Regions from separate parts of the Homo sapiens genome. Here region 1 is linked to region 2. The links are contacts of gene promoters, found by promoter capture Hi-C in blood cells and fetal thymus (Javierre and others, 2016). All regions are on one chromosome and are shown on one strand. Each heading gives the region's core, a stretch centred on a gene start or on the middle of the fragment in contact. The rest is flanking DNA. Distances are from core to core; before and after follow the strand shown. Region 1 holds the start of FOSB (FosB proto-oncogene, AP-1 transcription factor subunit). Region 2 holds the start of EML2 (EMAP like 2).

Evidence for each region. Contacts are between HindIII fragments. The CHiCAGO score rates a contact against its expected background, and 5 or more counts as called.
Region 1: a contact is called between the fragment with the promoter of FOSB here and the fragment with the promoter of EML2 in region 2, in 14 of 17 cell types (erythroblasts, fetal thymus, endothelial precursors and 11 more). The highest score is 11.1, in erythroblasts.

Annotation. Positions count from the first base shown.
Region 1 is chr19:45,466,696-45,469,395 of GRCh38, forward strand. FOSB (FosB proto-oncogene, AP-1 transcription factor subunit) reads left to right here and starts at 1,301. Exons shown (of 4, transcript NM_006732.3): 1 at 1,301-2,017. The coding sequence starts at 1,892. RefSeq lists a silencer at 938-1,217 and an enhancer at 1,402-2,303. The HindIII fragment of the contact is 2,687 bases long and covers 1-2,394 here.
Region 2 is chr19:45,638,125-45,640,824 of GRCh38, forward strand. EML2 (EMAP like 2) reads right to left here and starts at 1,273. Exons shown (of 19, transcript NM_012155.4): 1 at 1,233-1,273; 2 at 721-749; 3 at 381-510. The coding sequence starts at 1,252. It overlaps MIR330 (microRNA 330), which reads right to left and starts at 963; the gene lies at 870-963. RefSeq lists enhancers at 99-950, 187-481, 951-1,802 and silencers at 187-481, 1,178-1,457, 1,478-1,567. The HindIII fragment of the contact is 2,349 bases long and covers 685-2,700 here.

The DNA.
Region 1 (2,700 bases), core at 51-2,550, 170 kb before region 2:
AAAAAAAAAAGACCTGACAAGTGAAAGCTACTAATATTGCCATTATCATTTAAAAAAACCCCAGACACAGGTTTTTCAGGGAGTTTCATCCAACCAGGCAGGTCTCAGAAATCAGAAAAGAAATGGAAAGGGTAGGAAATCTGGAGTTTGACAATTCTGAGTTTGAATTTCTTGTGATGGGATCTTGGGCAAGTCATTTAACCTCCCTGAGTATCATTTTTTTCTTTTATAAAATGAAGATTTTTCTCTCTTAACCTTCCAGAGCTGTTTTAAGGATTACAAATCTTCTACTGAAAGGCGTAGCACAGGAGCTGTGCTTGGCAAGTGCCAAATACAAGGCATTAATTATTATTATTAGAATTAATAATAATATCCCCTCCCTCTTACACATTCTTTGTCTCCGGGTGGATTAAAAGGTGGAAGGAGAGGCTACCAACACCATCAGAAGAGAGGCTTCTCTCTAAGTTTCATTTCCCATCTCCTCCAAATCCGCATCCCTCCCAAACGCCGGACCTGTAAGGCCAGCAGGGTCCAAGACACACATCCTTTGCCCAGCGGGGAAGATTAAAGCTAAAGCTCAGAGAGGGAAAACATTTCCTAAGCTCGCACAGCGAATCAGGACAGAAACCAGGACGAGCCTCGGAATCCCTCCATTACCTCCACTTTCACCTGAGCATCACAGCCCGCTCGGGACTCAGTTTCCCCACCTACGTGACCACACCACACTAATCAGGGTCTCCTTTTGGAGATCTGCTCTTCTTCTCGAATGGGGGCGCTGCACCATCGGTAGAACAGGGTAGGTGGGGGCGCCAGAGGTGAAGGGGACCTGCAGGCTGGGGTCTTCCCCGCCCGGGTCAGCGGGGTCCCTGCGGGGCTAGTCTAAGCGCCTATTATTACCAGCCCCCGGGGCGGCGTTGCACTGCGCAGGCGCGGGCGGGGCGCGGGCGCGCGCGCGAGCGAGCGAGGGATTCCCTCTGACGTCATTGCTAGGATACCAAACAAACACTCCGCCGCGCCGGCCGAGCTCCTTATATGGCTAATTGCGTCACAGGAACTCCGGGAAGGCGGGGCCGGGATCCCCTCCCGCCGAGTGGCCCGGAACGCAACCCCCGAGACCCCCAGGGCCCCGAGGGTCATGCAAGTGACCAGATCGAGTCTAGAACAGACCTCTTGCTGGACAGTGCGGGACTCGATTTGGCGGGGCCGGAGATTTGGGGAAGTTTGTCCAGCAAGGGGCGGGTGACGTAAGCAGGGGGGCGGGTCCCGGGCATATAAATACAGGCTGGCGGGTCTGTGCTTCATTCATAAGACTCAGAGCTACGGCCACGGCAGGGACACGCGGAACCAAGACTTGGAAACTTGATTGTTGTGGTTCTTCTTGGGGGTTATGAAATTTCATTAATCTTTTTTTTTCCGGGGAGAAAGTTTTTGGAAAGATTCTTCCAGATATTTCTTCATTTTCTTTTGGAGGACCGACTTACTTTTTTTGGTCTTCTTTATTACTCCCCTCCCCCCGTGGGACCCGCCGGACGCGTGGAGGAGACCGTAGCTGAAGCTGATTCTGTACAGCGGGACAGCGCTTTCTGCCCCTGGGGGAGCAACCCCTCCCTCGCCCCTGGGTCCTACGGAGCCTGCACTTTCAAGAGGTACAGCGGCATCCTGTGGGGGCCTGGGCACCGCAGGAAGACTGCACAGAAACTTTGCCATTGTTGGAACGGGACGTTGCTCCTTCCCCGAGCTTCCCCGGACAGCGTACTTTGAGGACTCGCTCAGCTCACCGGGGACTCCCACGGCTCACCCCGGACTTGCACCTTACTTCCCCAACCCGGCCATAGCCTTGGCTTCCCGGCGACCTCAGCGTGGTCACAGGGGCCCCCCTGTGCCCAGGGAAATGTTTCAGGCTTTCCCCGGAGACTACGACTCCGGCTCCCGGTGCAGCTCCTCACCCTCTGCCGAGTCTCAATATCTGTCTTCGGTGGACTCCTTCGGCAGTCCACCCACCGCCGCCGCCTCCCAGGTAAGTTTTTGATAGTAGGGGTGCTGCTTTGTAGGTTTTATTTTTTAAGTCAAGGGTGAAAAGAATAAACCCCAACCCCCACAAAAAGGCGCATCAGAACCCTAGATCTGAGATGGAAAAGGCTCACAGCGCACTTTGCAAACTGCAAAGAGTCGGGAGATGTTTGCAATTGGTTGCGTGCGTGGAGCGCAAGGAGGGAACGCGGCAGGGAGGGTAGGCTTTGGGGCGAGGTGGGGGTGGGGTGGGTAATGCGCTGCTCAATGCAACGTGTATGCGGTAGCGGGGCTGAGAACTTTGAGCCGGCCCCGGGACTGCCCCCTGCTCGGGTCCCAGACCTGAAGCTAGCGCAGTTAGGCAGGTGGGGGAAATCCCGGGGAAGCTTCCAGCAGTCTCTTTTCCTTTCCTCCTCCTTCGGAGCGCCCACTTCGGTGCCGGGTCGCCCTCCACCCATCGGGAAGAGGGGCCTCGAACCCTCAGCCGCGCTGCCTCCGCCTCCTGCGCGGAGACGTAACGGGGGACCCGTGCGTAACGGCTGACGCGCTGGAATCCTCCGTCTGACGCGGGGCACGCACGGCGCGCGGCGCCCCCTTCGTCCGCCCCGCCCCTGACGTCCCGGGAGCGTTCTATTTTGGAACGCCGGGGCCACGTTGCTAAGGGAGGGGGCAGCCCGGCGTTTCGATTGG
Region 2 (2,700 bases), core at 23-2,522:
GCTCAGTACCTTTACACATTATTTCACAGGTCTATGGACCTGAGATCATAAAATTCATTTTTCAGAGTCAAGACGACTTTTCCAGGGTCACACGGCCAGGTACGGGCTGGACTGGGGTTTGAACCCATCTCTGTCAGACTCCAGAGCCCGGGCTTCCAGCCATTCCCAACTCTTTTTGCTCAAATGCACCAATCCCACTCTGGCCACATAGCCCTTGAACGTGCTGTGCTTGTTTTGTGTGTTGCCCAGGCAGGTCTCAAACTCTTGGCCTCAAACGATCCTCCCAAAGTGCTGAGATTACAGGCCTGAGCTGCCTTGACCGCCTTTCTATTTCCTCCTGGGGGGATGGGAGCACCAAGGAGATTCCAGCAAAAGGATACACCCACTCCAGCTTGAGCCGGCAAGAAGGCAGCTCCGAGCGTGTGTCCAGGCTGTAGGTGGGTGCCAGCTCGTCTGGGATCATCATGGGCACAGGGCGGCCCCTCAGGAACATTTTCACGGAGCCATCCTCTGCCAGGACACCCCCAGAGGTCAGGCACTGACACCAGCCCCATCCCTATTCCCTCTCCTCTTCCAGCTTTATTTATTTATTTTTTTAAAGGCAGGGAAACTGAGGCCAGAGAGGCAAAGACCCAGTAGCCAAGACTCCTGACCTCTGGCTCCAGCCTGTCACCCCAACAAGCAAGCTTCCACCGAGCCCTTCCCCATCTCCCCACTCACCCACACTGAAGATAACTTCTTTGGTTTTGCTGTCAGGAAAGGACAAAGAAAAAAAAAGGGTCTTAGTATTCAGTTCAGAAAAGGGGAGAAACCATTCCTCCACCCCCACCGCTCCCCGGAGGTCTCCGATGAAAACGGGGCCGAGTAAGGGGCAGAGCGCTGCCTCTCTGCAGGCCGTGTGCTTTGCTCGGTTGATCTTGCAGAGCCTAAGACACAGGCCCAGAGAGGCAGTGATCGCCAAAGATCACACAGCACGAAGTGGCAGGGACGCGATCCTGGAAGAAGGGAGTCACCAAGGACCCTTCCCTCCTAATCAGCAAGGTGCTCCCCAGCGCCCCCCACCCGCAGTTCCCCCAGCACACCAAACGTCAAGCAGAGGGAGAAACGGGGAGAGTTTAAGGGAAGGGGCGTGTCCCCACGCCGGTCTGGGTCCCAGGGGTTGGGTGAAACCTGAGATCTAAGCCCCGGGAGCGCGGAGAGGAGATGGGGGGTGGTCTGCGAAAGGGTCTCACCCAGCTCCAAAGCTACTCATGGCGGCGGGTGGCGGAGCTTCGGGGCCGGGGGTGGAGCCGGGACCGGCTCTGCCGCTTCCGGCCCTGGGAGGCGCCCGGGCCGCCGCGCCCCTGCCCCGCCCTCCACAGCCACCCCTGGAGCCGGAGGGTCCCACCGGGTCACACATCCCGGGCTGTGGACTCCCGATCCCAGGTTCTTTCGGGGTGGGTGGGGGAGAGTGGTTGAGAACATGGACTCGGGAGCGCGCCTGCTTGAGTTAAAACCCCAGTTCTGCTAATTCCTAGCAGTGTACACAGGTCGTCCAACCTCTGCCTCGGTTTCCTCATTTAAAAAATGGGGATAATAAGAGTACCCGGCCGGGCGCGGTGGCTCATGCCTGTAATCCCAGCACTTTGGGAGGCCGAGGCGGGCAGATCACCTGAGGTCAGGAGTTCAAGACCAGCCTGGCCAACGTGGTGAAACCCCGTCTCTACTAAAAATACAAAACTTAGCCTGGCGTGGTGGCTGGCGCCTGTAATCCCAGCTACTTGGGAGGCTGAGGCAGGAAAATCATTCGAACTCGGGAGGCAGAGGTTACAGTGAGCTGAGATTGTGTCATTGCACTCCAGCCTGGGCAACGAGAACAAGACTCCGTCTCAAAATAAATAAATAAATAAGAGTACTCACACCTCCCGGGGGTAGTTGCGAGGGTGAAATTGGTTAATTATTGGGAAGTGCCTGGAGTATACACAACGCTGTATTTGTGTTTGCTATGTTTGAGCAGAGTTGAAATGTGCAGCTTTTGACCTTGGTCTTGCCCTTGCGTGGCCTCCTAGCGCTGACCACGCCCACTGCACCATAACTCCAGCCTTAGGGTGATTTTTGTTTTGTTTTGTTTTTGATACAGGGTGTGGCTCTGTCGACCAAACTGGAGTGCAATGGCGTGATCATGGCTCACTGAAACCTCGAATTTCCTAGGCTTAAGTGAGCCTCCTGCCGCAGCCTCCCAAGTAGCTGGGTCTACAAGCGAAGGCCAGCACGCCCGGCTATTTTCTTTCTCTCTCTTTTTTTTTTTGTTTTTTGTTTTTTGTTTTTTGTTTGTTTGTTTAACGGAGTCTTGCTCTGTCAGCAGGCTGGAGTGCAGTGGCGCGATCTCAGCTCACTGCAACCTCCGCCTCCCGGGTTGAAGTGATTCTCCTGCCTCAGCCTCCCGAGTAGCTGGGACTACAGGCACGCGCCACCACGCCCATTTTTGTATTATTAATAGACAGGGGGTTTCACCATGTTGGCCAGGATGGTCTCGATCTCTTGACCTTGTGATCCACCCGCCTAGGCCTCCCGAAGTGCTGGGATTACAGGCGTGAGCCACCGCGCCAGGCCTAATTTATTTTCATTTTTAGTAAAGACGAGGGCTCGCTATTTTGCCCAGCCTGGTCTCGAACTCCTGAGCTCAAGCGATGATTCCCGCCTCCGCCTCCCAAACTGCTA